Linked DNA regions of Homo sapiens: region 2 is linked to region 1. The links are contacts of gene promoters, found by promoter capture Hi-C in human tissues and cell types (Jung and others, 2019). All regions are on one chromosome and are shown on one strand. The core of a region is centred on a gene start or on the middle of the fragment in contact, and the rest is flanking DNA. Distances in the headings are between cores, read along the strand shown. Region 1 holds the start of CBR3 (carbonyl reductase 3). Region 2 overlaps MORC3 (MORC family CW-type zinc finger 3).

Region 1 (5,684 bases), core at 3,185-5,684:
ACGTACTGTGGGTCTTGTGCTGCCCATGCTTATAAACAAGTGGATCCGTCTATTACCCGGAGAATTTTCATCCTTGGGCCTTCTCATCATGTGCCCCTCTCTCGATGTGCACTTTCCAGTGTGGATATATATAGGACACCCCTGTATGACCTTCGTATTGACCAAAAGATTTACGGAGAACTATGGAAGACAGGAATGTTTGAACGCATGTCTCTGCAGACAGATGAAGATGAACGCAGTATTGAAATGCATTTGCCTTATACAGCTAAAGCCATGGAAAGCCATAAGGATGAGTTTACCATTATTCCTTTACTGGTTGGAGCTCTGAGTCAAAAGAACAGGAATTCGGAACTTTTCAGTAAATATCTAGCGGATCCTAGTAATCTCTTTGTGGTTTCTTCTGATTTCTGCCATTGGGGTCAAAGGTTCCGTCACAGTTACTATGATGAATCCCAGGGGGAGATTTGTAGATCCATTGAACATCTAGATAAAATGGGTATGAGTATTATAGAACAATTAGACCCTGTATCTTTTAGCAATTACTTGAAGAAATACCATAATACTATATGTGGAAGACATCCCATTGGGGTGTTATTAAATGCTATCACAGAGCTCCAGAAGAATGGAATGAATATGAGTTTTTCGTTTTTGAATTATGCCCAGTCGAGCCAGTGTAGAAACTGGCAAGACAGTTCAGTGAGTTATGCAGCTGGAGCACTCACGGTCCACTGAAGCTCTGAATCCTCAGGGATGCCACCTGCACATTCTCATACTCTGTCCGGGCTCCCAGCCTAGCCTTTACCACGATACTGGTCCTGGTTTGGGGGGATTCTGAAACCTCAAACTAATAGAACTTTCTTCTCTTTTTTTCTAGTAGGTGTAGTCCTTCCTTAATTTCAACTCATTAAAAAATGCTTTATAGTTTAGGGCAGTGGAAGGAAGGCTGGCATCAAAATATTTTGATCAAAAAAGATGACAATGTAAAGGCTCAGTTATGGCAGACAGTTTTTTGAAAGTAACTTGTAAAGCATTTACCATATCCTAAATTTGCACTCTTTGCAGACTTGTGCACATATATTCCGCTTTCAGAATAGTTTTGCAAATTGTACACAAACAAACAAAAAGGTGGAAGCTTTTTAATAAAGAAATTGCATTTATAAATGATCTGTATTAGAATATAATAAATCTCCAGTTATAGTCAATTACTACCCATGTTGTACAACAGATACCTTCTATTTTAGTTGCTAATAAAGGGCTACACAACTCAAAATAAATAAATAAATAAATAATTTAAAAAATAAATAAAAATAAACTGAATGAAATTGAAAACATATCAATGTGAGATGCCACTAAAGTCATACTAAAAGGGAATTTACACCACTTACTGCCTACATTAGAAAAGAAGTCTCAAATCAATGCAAATCAATGACTTCTGCCTTTACAGTAAGAAACCAGAAAAAGAGCAAATAAAATCCAGTAAGCAGAAGAAAGGAAACAAAGATCAGAACAGAAATTAATATAATCAGGAAAAGAGAGAGAGAGAGAATCATTGTAACCAGAAGTTTGAGGAAAATCAAATCAATTGGTAAACCTCTAGCCAGACAGATCAGAAAAAAACACGAAAGACACAAACCAGTCTCAGAAATGACAGGTAGCATCATTACCAACATTAAAAGGATAAGGGCATGTTAAAAGGATAAGGGTATCAATAGAATCAACACCTTAGATGAAATATATAAAAAATTTGAGCTCTTTCTCAGTGACCAGGGCCTGTGCTTAGGCATAGACGGGCAAGTGGAGCCAACATGCCAGCGGCCCAGAGCTGGGTTTGTTGCCAAACTTATGTGACCCTGCAGAGACCCTTCGAGAAACCTCATCTCGACCAAAAGCTAAAGCTGATTGGTGAGTATGGGCTCCAGAACAAATGTGAGGTCTGGAGGGTCAAATTTACCCTGGTCAAGATCCATAAGGCCGCCCGGGAGCTGCTGACGCTTGATGAGAAGGACCCACGGCGTCTGTTCGAAGGCATTGCCCTGCTGCAGTGGCTGGTCCGCACTGGGGTGCTGGATGAGGGCAAGATGAAGCTGGATTACATCCTGGGCCTGAAGATCAATGATTTCTTAGAGATTCCTACAGACCCAGGTCTTCAAGCTTGGCTTGGCTAAGTCCATCCGCCACGCTCATGTGCTGATTCAACAGTGTCATATCCGTGTCCGTGAGCAGGTGGTAAATATCCTGTTCTTCACTGTCCGCCTGGATTCCCAGAAGCACATTGACTTCTCCCTCTGCTTCCCTATTGGGGTGGCCAACCCCAGCCACGTGAAGAGGAAGAATGCCAGCAAGGGCCAGGGTGGGGCTGGAGCCAGAGATGACGAGGAGGAGGAATAAGCCTGCTTGTCCCCTCCTGGGCTGGTGGATTGTCTAGTTTTCCTGCCAAATGATAAAACAGGATCAATGCTTTATTTAAAAAAATAAAATTATGAAAAACAGAAATTAAGGTCACTCAAGAAGAACTAGGCCAGGCACGGTGACACAAGCCTGTAATACCAGCACTTTGAGAGGCCAAGGAGGGAGAATCGATGTAGCCCAGGAGTTCAACCAGTCTGAGCAACACAGTGAGACTCCCATCTCTAAAAACAAATAAAAATAAAATAAAATAAAAAATTATCCAGGCAGGCCGGGTGTGGTGGCTCACGCCTGTAATCCCAGCACTTTGGGAGGCCAAGGCGGGTGGATCACGAGGTCAGGAGTTCGAGACCAGCCTGGCCAACATGGTGAAACCCTGTATCTACTAAAAATACAAAAATTAGCTGGGTGTAGTGGCAGCGCCTGTAATCCCAGCTACTCAGGAGCCTGAGGCAGGAGAATCGTTGGAACCCAGGATTCGGAGGTTGCAGTGAGCCAAGATCGTGCCACTGCACTCCAGCCTGGGTGACAGAGCAAAACTCCGTCTCAAAAAAAAAAAAAAAAAAAAAATTATCCAGGCATGACTGTGGCACACTTGTAGTCCCAGCTACTAGGGAGGCTAAAGGGGAGGATCACCTGAGCTCAGGAGACTGACGCTACAGTGAGCCACGACTGCAGCACTGCACTCCAGCCTGGGCGACAGAGAAGACCCTATTAAAAAAAAAAAAAAAAAAAAAAAAAACAGAAATAGAAAGCCTAAATAGCCCCATATCCTTAAAACAAGGTTCCAAATGATCTTTTTTTTTTTTTTTGAAAAGTCTCACTCTGTTGCACAGGTTGGAGTGCAGTGGTGCAATCTCGGTTTACTGCAACCTCCGCCTCCCGGGTTCAAGCAGTTCTCCTGCCTCAGCCTCCTAAGTAGCTGGGATTACAGGCACGTGCCACCACACCCAGGTAATTTTTGTATTTTTAGTAGAGATGGGGGTTTCACCATGTTGGTCAGGCTGGTCTTGAACTCCTGACCGCGTAATCCACCCGCCTCAGCCTCCCAAAGTGCTGGGATTACAGGTGTGAGCCACCGCGCCCGGACCAAATGATCTTTAGGAGAAAAAAGAAGGAAATACTGGGGGAGGCACAGTAGGAGATCACAGCAGGGGCCCACCTCCGGAACCTCAAGTAAGGACTTGAGAGAGAAGGTAGAGTCAGAGTAACAGAGACACAGGCGGGTTAGCCAGCTCTGCATGGAAAAGGCTGAGTCGTGATGATGTCATGGTTCTCCCCAAATCTCAAAGTCACTGATCAAACAACTCAGTTTACACTGAAGACGATGGATGAGACTCTAATTTTGTGCCCACAGCTTGACACACCTTTGGGAATTTGGTTTAACTTTCTTTGCCGGTACACAGATCTGTGAGAACATATGATCAATCCAGATCTTTATAGATCTATATCCTCCCTGGACAAACCTAAATGCAGACACTTTTAGCACCCGTAGGAGTTAGGTAGGATTAAATAAAAACATTCCCTCCCACTTGGGGGCACATTCACTGGGAATCCCAGAGCGATGTCGCCTGCCCACACCTGCTAAGTGCGCTCACAGGGCATCTAGTTCCCTCTCTTGAGTTCCTTTTAAGCAAGCAAGGCAACCTATGTCCAGAGAAGCAGTTACTGTGTCTAAGTAAGTCACTGCATCTTAGGAAAAAGCAAACATTCGCATTTTGCAGTGCATGATGGGCGCACACCCAAGAAAATTACTCAGCACTTGTTTTTCTCACTTTGGGGTTTTCCCAAAATAATTTCTTCAGTCCAGTTGCCAAGAATCTGGAGCCCCCGACTGACCCATCAAGGTCCGATTTGGCTTCGGACACCTCGCAGATCACCCCGCGGCTCAGAGCCCGGATCCTGAAGGGCGCAGCGTGGGCAGGGGGCGGGCCCGGGAGTTGGAACAGAGGGCACAGACGGCCCCTCCTCGGAGGGGAGGGACCGGAGCCGGGGCCTTTTTCTTTAAGACTCGCAGCACTGGATCCCAGAACTTAGTCTGCGCGGCGGCATTGACACTAGCTGGGCTCCTCGGGGCGCGCCCCAGGTGGTCCGAAGCCCGGTCCGCCCTCCACGCAGGTGCCCCGCGCTCCCCGCTCAGCCATGTCGTCCTGCAGCCGCGTGGCGCTGGTGACCGGGGCCAACAGGGGCATCGGCTTGGCCATCGCGCGCGAACTGTGCCGACAGTTCTCTGGGGATGTGGTGCTCACCGCGCGGGACGTGGCGCGGGGCCAGGCGGCCGTGCAGCAGCTGCAGGCGGAGGGCCTGAGCCCGCGCTTCCACCAACTGGACATCGACGACTTGCAGAGCATCCGCGCCCTGCGCGACTTCCTGCGCAAGGAGTACGGGGGGCTCAACGTACTGGTCAACAACGCGGCCGTCGCCTTCAAGAGTAGGTGCAGGGCTTGGGTTGGGGCCCCCTGGAGCGCTCCGAGGGTGCGGAGGTGGCCAGCCGCAGGCTCCCCACCCGTCCACTTGAGTGACCGAGGAGGGTGGCGCCGACCCCTAGGGATGCGCTCAGCCCACGCCTCCCGCGAGGCGGTTTTCGCTTTCCGTGATTCGCTGAGCCCCAGGCGGGCCCGGGCGACAAACAGCGCGCCCCGCCCGCCGGCCTGTGAGGGCCTGTGCGCGGCCCGGGGCCCTCCCCGAACTGTCAGCCGCTGTTGTGTGCAGGAAAACTGGCCTCCTGGGAGGGGGCAACGCCCTGCTAGAGTTCATCAGCTTTCCTTCCAACGCGAGAAACATTTTCTCTGCAAAGAAACGGTCTCCGCTCGCTTTGGGCTTTCGCTTTCCTTGAAAGGGCGCATTCATAGATGCCCGGAGGCATTTGCTCGGGAAAGGAAATGAATCGCTAAAACAGGATTAGCGCGCGCTTGCCCTTGGTGGACTTGACAATTTGTGTAATGCAGAGCTTTGATAGGCTCTGGCAAAAAGGAAGCGAGCCTTCTCGTTCCCCCACCCCCGCCCGGGGAGCTTATGTTTGTTATAAAATACGTGCGTGTGGTCTTAAAAGCATCTTCCTTAAGGAGAGGGGCGGGGATCAAGAGATTGCTTATTCTAACTACTACTGAAGAAAATTACAGGAGGGCGCAGTGGCTCACGCCTGTAATGCCAGCACTTTGGGAGGCCGAGGCAGGAGAAACGCTTGAACCTGGGAGGCAGTGAGCCGAGATCGCGCCACTGCACTCCAGACTGGGAGACAGAGCGAGACTCCGTATGAAAAAAAAAAAAAAGTTACT
Region 2 (5,820 bases), core at 2,087-4,586, 230 kb after region 1:
GTGAGCCAAGATCACACCACTGCACTCCATCCTGGGGAACAGACTGAGACTCTGTCTCAAAAAAACAAAAAACAAACAAAATATTGTTATCAAAAATGCATTTAATACACTTAACCTATTGAATATCATAGCTTCGCCTAGCCTACCTTAATTGTGCTCAGAACTCTTATATTAGCCTACATTGGGCAGTCATCTGACAGTCTGTTTTATCATAAAGTGTTGAGTATCTCATGAACTTTATTGAATACTGAAAGTGAAAAACAAAACAAAAATGATTGCTTGAGTACTCGAAGTACAGTTTCTGCTGAATGGGTATTGCTTTTGCACCATCATAAAGTTGATGCCATTGTAAATCAGGGGCCATCTGAATGCAAGTAGGCAGTTGTGCTTCTTGCTTGAGAAGTTTGGGTCTTGATAAGTCTAGTAGCAAAGAGGTCACCACATGGTAAATCTTTTTGGCTTTGTGGGCCACATAAAGTCTCTGTTGCATATTCTTTGTTTTGTTGCTTTGTTTCTTCACACCTTTTAAAAATACAAAGCCATTCTTAGCCTACTTGCAGGCTGGATTTAGTTCATTGGTTTACTTGTTGATTCCTGGTATAGCACAAGGAATTTACATGTTTGGAATTGTTTTTGTGTCTTCTGGGATAAGGGGGAAGAGGAAGATTATATCTTGTGTTTTGGGCATGTCACACTAGAAATAGTTCCTTTAAGGTGATGATTTTTCCCTCCAACAGATTAATGCTGAACTGTTGTTTCGGCCAACTGCTCTTTCAACTCCAAGCTTTTCTTCTCCTAAGGAAAGTGTTCCAAGAAGACATCTTTCAGAAGGAACAAATTCTTATGCGACAAGACTTCTAAATAATCATCAAGTTCCACCTCAGTCTGAACCTGAGAGCAACAGGTCAGTGGCTAAGATTGGTTTTCCATTTGGGGAATATTAAACAGAGCTTTTACTTGACACTTCTGTGACAGTGATGCAATTCGGGATCATTGTAGGTTCCATTGTGAATTGTAGGTTCCATGAATGTGAAAATCTTCAGGACAAATTGTCTTGCTTTTATTGTCTAAACTTAGGCTAAACCCTACTTCTGCCACCTGTTAAATTCGTTAAAAAGTATTAATTGACCAGCCTGGCCAACATGGCAAAACCCCATCTCTACTACAAATACAAAAAAATTAACCAGGCGTGGTGGCGGGCACCTGTAATCCCAGCTACTCCAGAGGCGGAGGCTGAGGCTGAGGCTGAGGCTGCACCCCAGCCTGGGCAACAAGAGCAAAACTCCGTCTCAAAAAAAAAAAGCATTAATTGTATTCATTGTAGAGTTTGATCGCATTCTCACCTGTTTGAATTTCTATATAGTATGACAATTCCTGCTTTTAAGATGATCAGGACTTAAAAAAATGTGAAGCAGCCCGGGCGCGGTGGTTCACGCCTGTAATCCCAGCACTTTGGGAGGCCGAGGTGGGTGGATCATTTGAGGTCAGGAGTTCGAGACCAGCCTGGCCAACATGGTGAAACCCCGTCTCTACTAAAAATATAAAAATTAGGTGGGTGTGGCGTTACATGCCTGTAATCCCAGCTACTTGGGAGGCTGAGGCAAGAGAATCGCTTGAACCTGGGAGGCGGAGGTTGCAGTGAGCCGAGATCACGCCACTGCACTCCAGCCTGGGTGACAGAGCGAGACTCCATCTCAAAAAAAAAAAAAAAAAAACATGAAGCAATTAACAGTACGACACTATAGTGACCCAGAAGTTCTTTGCAAAGCCTATGGCACACTGTAGGCACTTAATTTATTGGAGGAGTGGATGGAGAAGGAAGGGACAAAGAGAAAGTGATGCATGAATTGAATAGTTAGCCATCTTGACTGGATTGATCAGCGAAGGCTTTGTGATGAGGTGGTACTTACGTTGGTTCCTGAAGTTCTGAAAACAGTAGTCTTGTAGATGGCCTCTTCCAATTTAATAGAATGAAGACAAGTGAAGAAGAATGAATGTGATGTCTACAAACGAGTGGATCACACTGACTATACTGATGTTTGTTATTCGAAGAGGAACATTGAAACAAGCTTCTCTAAGATAGTGGGGCCAGATTTTTTTTGAGATGTTTTGTAACTTTTATCAAATTCTCAAAGGAATTTTTGACCCCAAGGAAGATTATAAATAACTAACTGCCTTTATGCATATATAAATCAAAGAGGGCATATTCTAGAATAGTTTGCTCTTCCTTTCTTTATTTTTTTGAGTCGGAGTTTGGCTTTTGTTGCCCAAGCTGGAGTGCAATGGTGCAATCTCAACTCAATGCAACCTCCGACTCCTGGTTCATGCGATTCCCCCACCTCAGCGTCCCGAGTAGCTGGGGTTACAGGCACGCACCACCATGCCTGGCTAATTTTTTGTATTTTTAGTAGAGACAGGTTTTCACTGTGTTAGCCAGGATAGTCTCGAACTCCTGACCTCAGGTGATCCGCCCGCCTCGGCCTCCCAAAGTAATGGGATTACAGGTGTGAGCCACAGCACCCGGCCAGTTTGCTCTTTATAACCTGTGTATTGGACACTCATTTTGGAGCTGGATTGCTACTTTATTAAGAACTCATATTTTACAGTTCTCCTTAACATTTTTGGCTTTTCTTTGTAAGGATGGTTTTGTAGTTTATAGATAAGAGATTAAAGGTATTTTTAATGATTTTAACTTTTAGATTCAGGGTACATGCAGGTTTGTTACATGGGTATATGGCGTGATCCTGAGGTTTGGGGTATGAATGATACCATCGCCCAGCTATTGAGCATAGTACCCAATATGTAGTTTTTCAGCCCTGCCCACCTCCCTTCCTCTCTCCCCACTGTAGTGGTCCCCAGTGTCTATAGTTCCCATCTTTATGTCCATGTGTACCTAGCACTTACTCCCACTTATAAGTGAGAACATGAAGTATTTGGTTTTCTGTTCCTGCCTTAATTCCCTTAGGATAAAGGCCTCCAGCTGCATTCATGTTGTTGCAAAGGACATTATTTCTTTCTTTTTTATGGCTGCAAAGAAAATTTTTTAAAAGTTGGCCGTCATCAAAATGGAAGACAAGAATAAAGAGGGAAATTTTTGATTAAACAACTTTTTTTTTTTTTGAAACAGAGTCTTTCTCTGTCACCCAGCCTGGAGTGCAGTGGCATAATCTGTTTACTGCAACCTCTGCCTCCTGGTTCAAACAACTCCCCTGCCTCAGCCTCCTGAGTAGCTGAGATTACAAATGTACACCGCCATGCCCTGCTAATTTATTGTGTTGTAGTATAGATGGGGGTTCACCATATTGCCCAGGCTGGTCTCAAACTCCTAAGCTCAGGCAATCTGCCTGCCTCGGCCTCCCAAAGTGCTGGGATTACAGGCGTGAGCCACTTTGCCCGGCCTATTAAACAGTTTTTAAAGCCGTATTCTCAAATTTATAAACCAAAGTTTGTGGAAAGGGTGTATCTAAGTCTTAGGAAATATAAATAGGAATGAGCTTGGTAAGAAAAAGAATAGAGTAACTCCAAATTAAACAGGGCAGAGTAAGCAAGAAGTACTTGATACAGCAAACCAAGGGAAGCTGAAACCTAAGCTGCTGGAGGATGGTAGAAACCAGTTTACGCCACAGGTCCCTAGAAAGTCTCCTAACTTGGAAGCATTGGGGACTGCTGAAGGTGGAAGATAGATAGGGGTGAGAACCAGAGGCTTGGTTGGAAACTTAAAGTCGAGACCTCTTTCCAACCTGCAAAGTCTGGTGAGTGCCCTTTCTCTGCCTCTGTCAGAAGATAGGGAATTTACTTTATGGAGCAGTTTTTACTGCTGAAGATGTACATGAGCCATTGTTTTGAAACAGAATGAGTAAGGGAAAGTTTGGATACTGAATGGTCAGAAATCCACCCTTCCCTCCTCACTGGGCTCCAAGAGAGAAGCCCTAAATGATGATGGCAGTTTGAGCACCCTTTGAATCACAAGCTCAGCCCTAACTACTGCTAGTCAGTTTCACTCTTAGGTATACGCAGATCGCCCTGGATAGCCACATGTGTCATCTCCCACATGGGACAGCAGACTGAAACAAAGGGAATAGAAGAAAACATTGTGAAATTTATTGGGGGAAAGTGATGTAAACTTGAATAAATAAATCATTTAGAATGAAAAGCTTAACAGTCGGAAGATAGAGAAAGAAGAAAAGATACAGTATCTGTGCTGGAAAGCCACCATCTGAATAAGGGAGTTTCAGAATGGGACGTAGGCACTGGTATGGTGTAGCAAACATAGCTGCCTTCCAGAATGGGAAATCATACCAGAAAAACTGCATTTCCACTAACTACAGAGCATAATGTCTGGAAGGAGAGCCACTCAAAGACATAGGATCATGACATTTTTTTAACGCAGGGAATAAAAGATTTTTTCAGAAAGAAACAGATTATGTACGGGCAAGAGATGAGGAATTAGAATGGCAGAAACACTTGAATGGCAGATGAAAATGGAATGATGCTTTTAAATTTCTGAGAAAATAATTTTTCAACCCGGAAGCCTATATAACAGTTAAGCTAGCAATAGACTTGAGAGAGAAATAAAGATGTTTTCATCATGCAAAACTTTGCGTTTGTTATGTTCTGTGTACCCTTCATTAAGATGCTGTTGCAGGCTGTGCTCGCCCAATATGAGACAGTCCAAAAAAGAGGAAAATCCTTCCTGAGATCTAGGAGGTCTAACACAAGGCCCAAATAGCAAACCAGTACAAATATTCCTCCAAGTGTGGAAAAAGGCAATCAAATGGTGATAAATAAATGTGAACTATGCACATATTAACATGAATGAACAGGGAATGATGCAAATGAAGAAATTGGGGCAATTTTAATTCAGATAAAATTATTTCATATGAAAGGATAAATACTGGTTTGCTTTATGGCTTATCTTTGATCACTGATTACTGATAAAAATTATTATGGGCAAATGAAAATGGTGGTGCCATTCCCTGAGCTGAAGAATACAAAGAAGGGGCCGGGGTGGGTAGCATTCTGTTCTGGAAATGTGTACATTGAAATGCCTGGAGGTGATCAAATGCAGAGATGTTTGGCAGTAAATAGATCTGGTACTTCAAAGAGATCTCAATAGTCCATCGTCTTCATCTGTAAAAAGAGAAAATAATCTCTACTTCATTAAATCAGTGATTGGTACTATACAATGCGTCACTTTAAAAAATGAGCCTGGGTATTTCTTAGTATTGCAAAACTTATAGCTGGGCACAGTGGCTCATGTGTCTAATCCCAGCACTTTGGGAGGCTGTGGCAGGCAGATTGCTTGAGCTCAAGGAGTTTGAGACCAGCCTGGGCAACATGGGGAAACCCCATCTGTACTAAAAATATAAAAATTAGCTGGACGTGGTGGCGGGTGCCTGTAATCCCAGCTCCTCAGGAGGCTGAGGCAGGAGAATCACTTGAACCTGGGAGGCAGAGGTTGCAGTGAGCCAAGACTGTGCCATTGCACTCTAGCCTGGGCGACAGAGTGACACTCCATCTCAAAAAACAAAAAAACTGTTACAATACTGCATTTGTTAGAATGATTACTTCAAGGTCATCTATTTTGTCCATATTTTATAATCTTATGTTTTATGTATAAAATTTTTTTCAGCTTGAAACGGAGACTTTCTACTCGTTCCTCAATTTTGAATGCAAAGAATCGGAGATTGAGTAGTCAGTTTGAAAATTCAGTTTATAAAGGTGATGATGATGATGAAGATGTCATCATCTTAGAAGAAAACAGTACCCCCAAACCTGCAGTAGATCATGATATTGACATGAAATCAGAACAGAGTCACG

The links. Contacts are between HindIII fragments. The study calls those that stand out against the background at their distance.
Region 2: a fragment that was not itself captured here is called in contact with the fragment with the promoter of CBR3 in region 1 in 3 of the 25 tissues and cell types used here (IMR-90 fibroblasts, lymphoblastoid cells and mesendoderm cells).

The regions. Positions count from the first base shown.
Region 1 is chr21:36,130,645-36,136,328 of GRCh38, forward strand. CBR3 (carbonyl reductase 3) reads left to right here and starts at 4,435. Exons shown (of 3, transcript NM_001236.4): 1 at 4,435-4,837. The coding sequence starts at 4,549. It overlaps CBR3-AS1 (CBR3 antisense RNA 1), which reads right to left. Exons shown (of 3, transcript NR_038893.1): 3 at 1,123-2,430. It also overlaps the pseudogene MEMO1P1 and the pseudogene RPS9P1. RefSeq lists enhancers at 3,790-4,597, 4,598-5,404, 5,240-5,409 and silencers at 4,420-4,489, 4,920-5,089. The HindIII fragment of the contact is 7,591 bases long and covers 1,642-5,684 here.
Region 2 is chr21:36,363,356-36,369,175 of GRCh38, forward strand. MORC3 (MORC family CW-type zinc finger 3) reads left to right here. Exons shown (of 17, transcript NM_015358.3): 14 at 738-904; 15 at 5,633-5,820. Among named protein-coding and RNA genes, the nearest start is that of CHAF1B, 19 kb to the right of the region's middle. RefSeq lists a silencer at 1,422-1,598. The HindIII fragment of the contact is 3,820 bases long and covers 1,427-5,246 here.